3 separate regions of the Homo sapiens genome follow, and regions 1 and 2 are each linked to region 3. Evidence: promoter capture Hi-C in 16 types of primary human blood cells and fetal thymus (Javierre and others, 2016). All regions are on one chromosome and are shown on one strand. Each heading gives the region's core, a stretch centred on a gene start or on the middle of the fragment in contact. The rest is flanking DNA. Distances are from core to core; before and after follow the strand shown.

The links. The method cuts DNA at HindIII sites, captures the fragments that hold promoters and counts their contacts. A CHiCAGO score of 5 or more calls a contact.
Region 1: a contact is called between a fragment that was not itself captured here and the fragment with the promoter of LRMDA in region 3, in 1 of 17 cell types (naive CD8 T cells). The highest score is 5.6, in naive CD8 T cells.
Region 2: a fragment that was not itself captured here is called in contact with the fragment with the promoter of LRMDA in region 3 in 1 of 17 cell types (total B cells); the score reaches 5.5 in total B cells.

The regions. Positions count from the first base shown.
Region 1 is chr10:77,123,904-77,126,760 of GRCh38, reverse strand. The region is part of intron 5 of KCNMA1 (potassium calcium-activated channel subfamily M alpha 1); the gene reads left to right. Among named protein-coding and RNA genes, the nearest start is that of KCNMA1-AS2, 15 kb to the left of the region's middle. The HindIII fragment of the contact is 1,920 bases long and covers 505-2,424 here.
Region 2 is chr10:76,955,600-76,958,453 of GRCh38, reverse strand. The region is part of intron 20 of KCNMA1 (potassium calcium-activated channel subfamily M alpha 1); the gene reads left to right. The region is part of intron 2 of KCNMA1-AS1 (KCNMA1 antisense RNA 1); the gene reads right to left. Among named protein-coding and RNA genes, the nearest start is that of KCNMA1-AS1, 69 kb to the right of the region's middle. The HindIII fragment of the contact is 1,782 bases long and covers 407-2,188 here.
Region 3 is chr10:75,430,181-75,432,990 of GRCh38, reverse strand. LRMDA (leucine rich melanocyte differentiation associated) reads right to left here and starts at 1,367. Exons shown (of 7, transcript NM_001305581.2): 1 at 1,237-1,367. The coding sequence starts at 1,266. It overlaps LOC107984293 (a long non-coding RNA gene), which reads left to right and starts at 1,381. Exons shown (of 2, transcript XR_001747703.2): 1 at 1,381-1,469; 2 at 2,681-2,810. RefSeq lists enhancers at 558-1,058, 1,059-1,559 and a silencer at 1,318-1,417. The HindIII fragment of the contact is 4,872 bases long and covers 1-2,534 here.

The sequences.
Region 1 (2,857 bases), core at 215-2,714, 1.7 Mb before region 3:
TCAGCCAGCATTTGTGTGTGGTGGTGGGGGGGGGGTGGGGGGGTGGGGGGCACCACCACTGACAGGGGATGTAGCCCCAGGTGAGGCAGCTCCTTGTAGCAGAGGGCAGTTCTCATGAAGGGACTAGCTCTGAGCCTTTAGCAGGTCACTCTTCAAGAGCCCAGGACAAATAAGGTCCCTGAAGAGGGGATTTGGGCTGTACCCTACAGCATCTGCTATAGCTCATGTCTTTTATTCATTTAATGCAGTCTTGGATATGATACCCTAGTATTTTATTTAGGATTATTGTTGTTAGTCATTAGTGTGATAAGCTTGCCATTTAAGAAAAAATGCAAGGGAACTTGTGTCCAGGTAATGCCAACTTTCTAAACCAATACAGAGCATGGAAAAACACAGATAAGTCCATTTTTAAGAATTGATCATATAATAGAGAATAGATAGAGAAGTTACTATTTTTTGAAACTGTAAAAATCTCACTTGTAAAACTCTCTGAACCTGGAAGCTTTTGGGGAGGGCATGTAATTCCTGGCTTTTGGTATATACACATTTTCTTCTTCACAACTCTATTATAGCTATTTTGTGTTACCTTAGAAAATCATTTATTTCAGAGATTTTATAGAATAAAAATAATAAAAGATATTATAAAATAGAGAAGATGAATAATTGTCACCAAAGAGTTCCCCCTCTCACCTCTCTTATCTTGGTCTCCTCTCTTAGCCTGAAGTCGCTGTCTGTAGTCTTCTGGGCTCTTTCTGGGTATAGCCAGAGTGGTCATTCGTTAAGGCTTTTCCCTGATGAGGCTACTTTCTACTTCCCAAGAGTGCAGCCCTGACCTCTCTCAGGGGACCCCGCAGGGCTTCTGGCTTTTCCCTTTAGTAGGCAACATATAGTCTCAGAATTCTGAATGTGGATTATCTAACCTTTAACTCCGCCGTCTAATTATTTCTCAAAACTTTGATTCACTCATTCAGTTCAAACAAGGATTTATTGAGCCTTCACCTTATGCCAGACACTATGTTCAATGCTGGAAATATAGCCCTGAACAAAACAGACATCAGCTCCTCCCCTCATAGAGCTGATGCTAAAGAGAGGAAGGCAGAAAGTAACCACATAACCGAGGTGCTAGTGCTTCATGCTGAGGAGAAAAGTGAAGCAGGAAAGAGGATAGGGAGTTGCACGGGTGGTGTGGGAGGAGTTGCATGTTTAGGTCGGGTAGCCAGGGAAAGTCACGCTGATCAAGGGACATTGAGTAAGAACCCAAAGGAGGTGAGGGAGTATGCCATGTGGGCATCTGGCAAACAGCATTCCAGGCAGAGAGGCTGCATGTGCAGAGGCCCTGGGGCAGTAGCATACCTGTGTGTTCAAGTGTCACTGAAGACATCTGCCAGATCAGCGGACAGTAGTAGGAGTGACAGTAGGAAGCCATCAGATCCAAAAGGAGATAGTGCTGGTGGTGGGATGGTGTTGCTTTAGGCCTTTGAAAGACTTTGACTTTTACTCTGTGTGGAATGGGTGGCATTGGAGGCTTCTGAGCAGAGAACACAAGGGGTCCAGGGCAGAAAGCGGTTAGGAAGCTGATATGGTTTGGCTGTGTCCCTACCCAAATCTCATCTTGAATTGTAGTTCCCATAATACCCCTATGTTGTAGGAGGGGCCCTGTGGAAGGTAATTGAATCATGGGGGCAGTTACCCCCATGCTGCTGTTCTCGTGATAGTGAGTTCTCACGAAATCTGATGGTTTTATAAGGGGCTTTTCCCTCTTATGCTCAACACTTCTCCTTCCTGCCACCATGTGAAGTAGGATGTGTTTGCTTCCCCTTCTGCCATGACTGTAAGTTTCCTGAGGCTTCTCCAGCCCTGTGGAATTGAGTCAATTAAACCTCTTTCCTTTATAAATTACCCAGTCTCGGGTATGTCTTTATTAGCAGAGTGAGAACGGACTAATACGGAAGCTATTGTGAATGATTCCTGAAAGACCAACCATTTCTCCAGATAGTCTGGCTTGATCTGAGGATGAAATGTAGACTGACTTTTTTAACCTATGGAGAACTTCATTGGCTCATTTGCATTAGTGAAACTCAGTGCCATAAAAATGCCCAGTATGAGGCAGTCAAATAAGCAAAGGCCACCCTTGTTCAGCCCACAGGGGTCTTGCTCCTGCATCACCCTGGGTCCCTTTTGCAAGGAGATATTTCCCTCTGGTCTCCATGTTGGGAAAAATAAATGATTCTCCTGCAAGCCAGTTTGTTTTTCTCTCATATGTATACACTATTGATCTTATCCTGTCTGCCTGCTTGCTTTTGTTAAGAAGGTGCTCAGAGCTAGATCTGCAGTTTGTGTCTAGCAAGAGTATAGGACCTTGTGGCCTCTGCATTCATTTCTTTCCTGCCCTTACTTTCATGCACCTTAATTAAAAGAAAAGCTTTTATTCTACTATATTTGTGTAACTCACTCAAATGTGGCAAGCTGCCAATCAGCAATGGATATACGATACAAACACCATCGTTTAAAGATAAAAAGAAGAAATCCAGTTTGAAGTTCAGGTTGTTTGTATTCTATTTTTAGTTCCATAAATAAAAGCATATCTATGCACACACAGAATGTTCAGGATTAAACACTAAATGGCTAATACATTGCTAGCATGTATTTCTACAGGAGTGCCTCTTATCTATGGTTTTGCTTCCTGAGGTTTCAGTTATCCCCAGGCAACCGTAGTCTGAAAATATTAAATAGGAAATTCTAGAAATAAACAATTCATAATGTTTAAGTTGCATGCTGTCCTGCTTGGTTCCATCTGGGACAAGAATCCTCCCTTTGTCCAGCACATCCGTGCCATCTGCACTCCCTGGCCATTAGT
Region 2 (2,854 bases), core at 48-2,547, 1.5 Mb before region 3:
TCTCACATCATAGAGTTTCTATTACCCTAAAATAGGGCATGTACATTGGCTAAGTCGCAAGTGACAAGTGAGCCTTGAATTAATTATGGTGCCTTTTAGGGAAATTGAAAATTACTTTGTGAGTGGAAGACTTAGGTAATGTCATTATGATGTGAAAGACAATATCTAATCCTGGTCCTTGATTTCAACTAACTGGTCTTTGAGGAGTTGTGGGAGAGGCTTTGGAAGTGGGTCTCTATCACCTTGCAAACTGAAGATGTTGGGATCCCTTGTTCAGGGAGATTTCTCATGATCCTCCTTTCCATACAACAAACGGCCCAATTCCTCTGGGTCTCCCTGGATCACAGCAGTGTTGATTGGTGTGCTCAATGGCAAATGCTTGGACTTTCTTCTAGCAATAGAAGCTTTAGAAACTTTGATTTAGTCCCTGTGGACAACTGACTGTACACTCTCCACCTGTTCCAGAGATCTCTCTGCAGCACAGGCCAGCCTAAGGCACTTGAAATTACTACAGCAACAGCCATAGTAAAGAAATTTATACTGTCTGGCCAGAAACAGTTACAGACTCTATTGTTGCTGGAACGAATTGTGTTCCCAGCTTACTCCCAGACTGTGAAATCCAGTGAGTGTGTAACAGTGCTGGCCCTTACTGGAGCCATAAATTAATCCCTCTCCCACGCTGCTTACCTCTCATCTTCACTCTAGCAACCTTTCTTTACCTACTCAGGGCTCTCCAGCCTTCTGATATCCAACAATGGTCCAGTACTTTCAAAATTCTTCTAGCTGTGTCTTTCTCCAGTGACAGCACAGTGCTTCAAACCTTCAGGATCTTCTAGGCTCGCCCAACCTTTATATGCATATGCTCACTGTATCCCTTGCTCTTGTGGAATGGCTCAATGATAGAAAACCCACTGTCTTGGGCAACAACTCATTTCATTTTTGAATTACTTTCAATTTTTATAACAATCTTCCTGTTTTGGAACCATGATTTTTGTTCTCTCTTAATCTCATGGATCATTCTTAGTCTGCTGTCAATCAGTCATACTCAATCAGTTTAATCCATCTTCAACTTGACTGTCATTGCACATCTGGAGACAGCTGGAAGGCCTGGTCTGAGTCTTCTGTACCTTAGGTTAGGTGGTATGGTATGGGGCATCTTCAGCCATGGTTTTAGGTGCCATTATTTGGCCCTTTTCATTTGGGCCTCAATTCTCTGGGTGGGTCCTACTGGCTATTAGTGGATCAACACTGCAACATGCTGAGATTCCTCTTCATTTCTCATGGTTCAGATCAAATGCTAATTTTTTTTTTTTTTTTTTTTTTTTTGAGACAGAGTCTCGCTCTGTTGCCCAGGCTGGAATGTAGTGGCGTGATCTCGGCTCACTGCAAGCTCCACCTCCTGGGTTCACCCCATTCTCCTGCCTCAGCCTCCCGAGTAGAGTAGCTGGGACTACAGGCACCCACCACCATGCCTGGCTAATTTTTTTGTATTTTTAATAGAGATGGGGTTTCACCGTGTTAGCCAGGATGGACACGATCTCCTGACCTCATGATCCGCCCACCTTGGCCTCCCAAAGTGCTGGGATTACAGGCCTGAGCCACCACGCCCGGCCCAAATGCTACTTTCTTTGCAAAACCTTCCTTAATGCTACCCAAATACCAGGATATGAACAGCTTTTTTCTTGGTATTCTTGTATCACCTTGTACTTTGCTGTAACACTTGCCACAAGGTACTGTAACTATTGAACTATTGGTGTATATATATTTTTTTCCTGCTATCTTGTGGACCTCTCTTTGACTAGGGACTTTATCTTAATCATTACTGTAGCCTCCATTCCATGCTCAGAATAGGGGATTCTTATTGATTGCTTTACTGATTCAATTGGTTGCTTTACTGATTCAATAAACCAAAGTTAGAATTCCAGGTACCATGCTGGTCAGAGAGGGTAATGTCTTTGTTCCGGGAGGTTTTTGATGTTCCTCAGGTCAGTCTCTTGGGGGAAATCCTGGATTGTTTATATTTAAATGGTCCAGGCCAGGATGAGAGATGTGTGGGGAGTAGAGTGTAGTGTGGCATACCTCTAAGACTTCCTGGATGCCTCTGGATGTTCCATTGCAAACCATGGCTTGAGCTCCAGTGTGAAATTATGCCTGGTTTCTGGAAACCACTACCCCAGTTAATGAAGCTTGACATTAGCTGTCTTTTTTCTTTTTATTGAAGGGCGATCGATCATCAGGCTTGCTTATTTGCTTTTCTGGATGAAAGTTGTAGGCCACTGTTAACAACGTCTGACTCCTTCCCAGAAAGAATCAAGTATACCAAACCAAAATGTATCTCCTCTTCCCCAAGGCACACATTTTCTAAAAGTGTTTTTTGTCAGCTTGCTGTTTCATTTGCTTGCTTGCTGATATTATGGGAACATAGTTCTGAGTATCTTTTAAATCCTAAATGCACTAGGGGCAGGTCTCAGGTCATCCTGAGGTAATACTTTCTCTCCAACCAGTAAACAGGGCAAGAGAATTTGAACCTGGCTCTATATCTTCAGGGCAAGTCTGCTAATATCCTCTTGCAACTGAAATATGTTCTTCATGGGCTGGAAAGAGTTAATTTTGTTCATTTTCTCAAACCTCTTCTCCATGATGGCTTTTGTCTACCTACCTATTCCAGATAATATTAATAGATATCTATGCAACTGTTAAAGACTCTTCAAGGACAAAAACATCCCTCAAAATGTGCTCTCACCCTGATCTGTAAATAGTTCTTATCAGCCTTTTTATCTTAACATCTTTGACTAAGTTCAGTATTTGGAAGATGGCCTGGTGGTTTACATACCTCAAGACCTCTCAACAATCC
Region 3 (2,810 bases), core at 118-2,617:
CCCAGGCTGTGGGTCAAGGGACAGAGCCAGCATTCCTGAGCAACAAAACTGTTAAATGGGGGGTGCACAGAGACAAAGGAAAGGCTAATTTCCAACAACACCTGGCATGGTGCCTGGCATACAGTAGGCACTCAATAAACATGTGTACCTGATGAAACGACAGGACTCTGGAAAAAAAGAAAACAGGCAGCGGCTAGTTTAATGGGCTGCACAGTTGGCCCTCACTGCATCTGTAGGAGCTGTAAAAACCCCTAGAATCTCCTCTAAGGAGGAATCATTCCCTTCAGCCCAAAGTAATCTCAAAATCCAATTGTGCCTGACACTACCTGCCTTAGGCAATCCAAGAGGAGAGCTTCAAAAACTCAGAACTATTTCTCCAGGGTGTGCAGGGAAAGGTGGGAAGTAAGAGGGCTCTGGCTTCATCAGAGCAGAGAAGAGGTTAAAGACAGAGAACTGGCTTTTCCAGCAGGTAAGAAAGACACCTGGTCCCAGAGTGGCTGGGTTCATCCCTCCAACAATGAACACCTGAGGCTTCACTACAGAGCTCAAAGCATGTGAGACTGGGTGTCTGGCACCCAGGATTGAAACTGGCGTGTTGCCATTCATCACAGACTCCTGTTCAAGAAATCGAGTGTGGAAAGAGAACTGGAGGTCGGTGGCCTTCCATCAGCCTTTGGCTATGGCGTAGCCCATTCAGCGCAGGGCCCACCAGCACCCTCATCTCCAGGGATGTGCTGGGACTTTGGGTACCCTAGACACTTTTGCCTTCATAAACCCCTTCCTCCATTTACAAATAAGTAAATTTGTATATTACAACTGCATTGGTATAAAGATGACTATATCAATGTGATTTATCAAAATGGATTCTTTGACCAAAAGTTTTTAAAATTCAGATTATGAAATTGGAACATTTTCTGTGGGCCCCCAAAAGCAGCGGGGGCCGTCAGCACTGTGTCCGCTGGGCCTGCTCAGTGAGGCGCTAAGGGCAGAAGGAAGTGGGGAGAACGGGAGACCTTGCGGGTGTTCTTCCCGCACATCAAGGGGGTGTGCCAGGCCCGAAACGAGGTCTGTCCTAGCCCCACTAGGGCGAGCCTGAGCACCTGAAGCTCACCCCCTGCAGACGCAGCCCCCTGAGGCGGGGACAGGGGTGTCTAGGCCCTGGGGAGCCTCTGTGCCCCGCTGTCCCTCCCCACGCGGACTGCGCCCCGGGCGGAGGCGGGGCTGGCCGGGACTTACTTGAGTTCCACGCACCACGAGCCCGGCCATGGCGGCCAGGACGCTGCGGGCGCGCGGGACGGAGCGCGGGGGCGCGGCGGCAGCAGCGGGGAGCGCGGCAGGGGAGCGCGGCGGGCGCACAGTTCCGCACTGGGCAGTCAGCTGACCCGGCGGAAGCCGGAGGCGCGGGCTAGCCTCGGGGACCTCAGCTCCGCCGCTCGCCGCCGCCGCCCCTCGGCCCGGTCTCCGCGCAGGTGAGCCCTGGCCGCCCGCTGCAACAGGTGGCCCGCAGCGCCCCGCGCCCCGACGGCGGCCTGACCCCGACTGCCCGCGCCCCTCCCTCCCCCGGATGTCCCAATGCCCAAAACTCCATGCCCACAGCTTTATCGCGTTTGTCTGGGCCACGCCTGAGGTGGGGGTATTCCTATCAGGGGCGCCCTTTCTGAGCCGTTAGCCGGGCTGTAGCCAGCCGGGCCTTTCCTGCATTTCGCAAGCTGGGTTACATAATGGACCTCAACTGCAGCGAGGAGGGGCCTCTTGGCTGAACGCCCCTCCTCATCAAAGCTGGGGAGAGGGAAAGTTAGAAGGTTGAAGGACTCCTGGTGCGGCCCAGTTTCCATTTGTAGGAGGGGAGGGGGATTGGGGGGGTTGAATTTCCCTATAAATAAAACGCTGGCTTGGTGAAGACCACCCCACCCTTTCCCTGTGGCCTCTAAGAGTTGACAATAATAAACCCTGGGGAAGGATAATTGGCTGGTGACCCCAAATTTCAGGCTTCTCTTCTCCTGCTCCTCAGAGGGCAAGAGATTTGTGAGGCTTGAAGTTATCAGTGGGGTTATTCGCTGTTCCCCACCCACCCCATCCCCACCTGGAAGAGCTGGCCACGGGCCTCCTGTCTGGATGAAAGTAGGCCCAGTGGGCAGGTAACTCCCTAAACCCATGCCTGTTTTTCTCTGAAATTCTCTGGAAGGATCCAGATTTTCTCCTTGCCTATTCTTGCCTCCAAGTCCAGGATGCACAGAGCTACCAGATATCAACTGGTTGTCATCTTCCACTCTTGCTGCAGCTAAGAGCCAGCCCAGCCTTAACTGGCATCGTCTCTCAGACAGCCCCGGTCCTAACACATTGTTAGGTGGGCCCTTGTCAGCATTTTGATGAGCAGTGTTGATCTCGGAGGGTTGACCTTCCTGCCCCTCTCTCAGCTGGGAGGAGCAGGCTCAGAAGAGTAGAGCAGTAAGAATGCAGTCTTGACTGTGTTTACTTTGGGGGATTCCAGGAAATGCTGCAACAAAAGGTCCTGCAGGCCAAAAAAGAAAGCTTACCCTCCAGAGATAAGGGGATCAAAGGGAACCTTCCCAGGCCTGTTGCCCCAAGGACCAGCTCCCCCGCCTTCTCCCTCCTTCTCTGCTGGACGCGCCCTCTCTGGTCCATTGTGCACTTTTGTCTGCTTTTCCTGCCTGAAAAGGAGGAAGTGAGCCCGGACCCAGCCAGCACTCTGCCCTCCGCAGCTGCCTTTCAGCTCAGCTTTCCTAGAAGGGCTTTGACAGATGGAAGAGGACTTGTGGAAACAGGCCCAAGCTGACTCAAAGATGAGA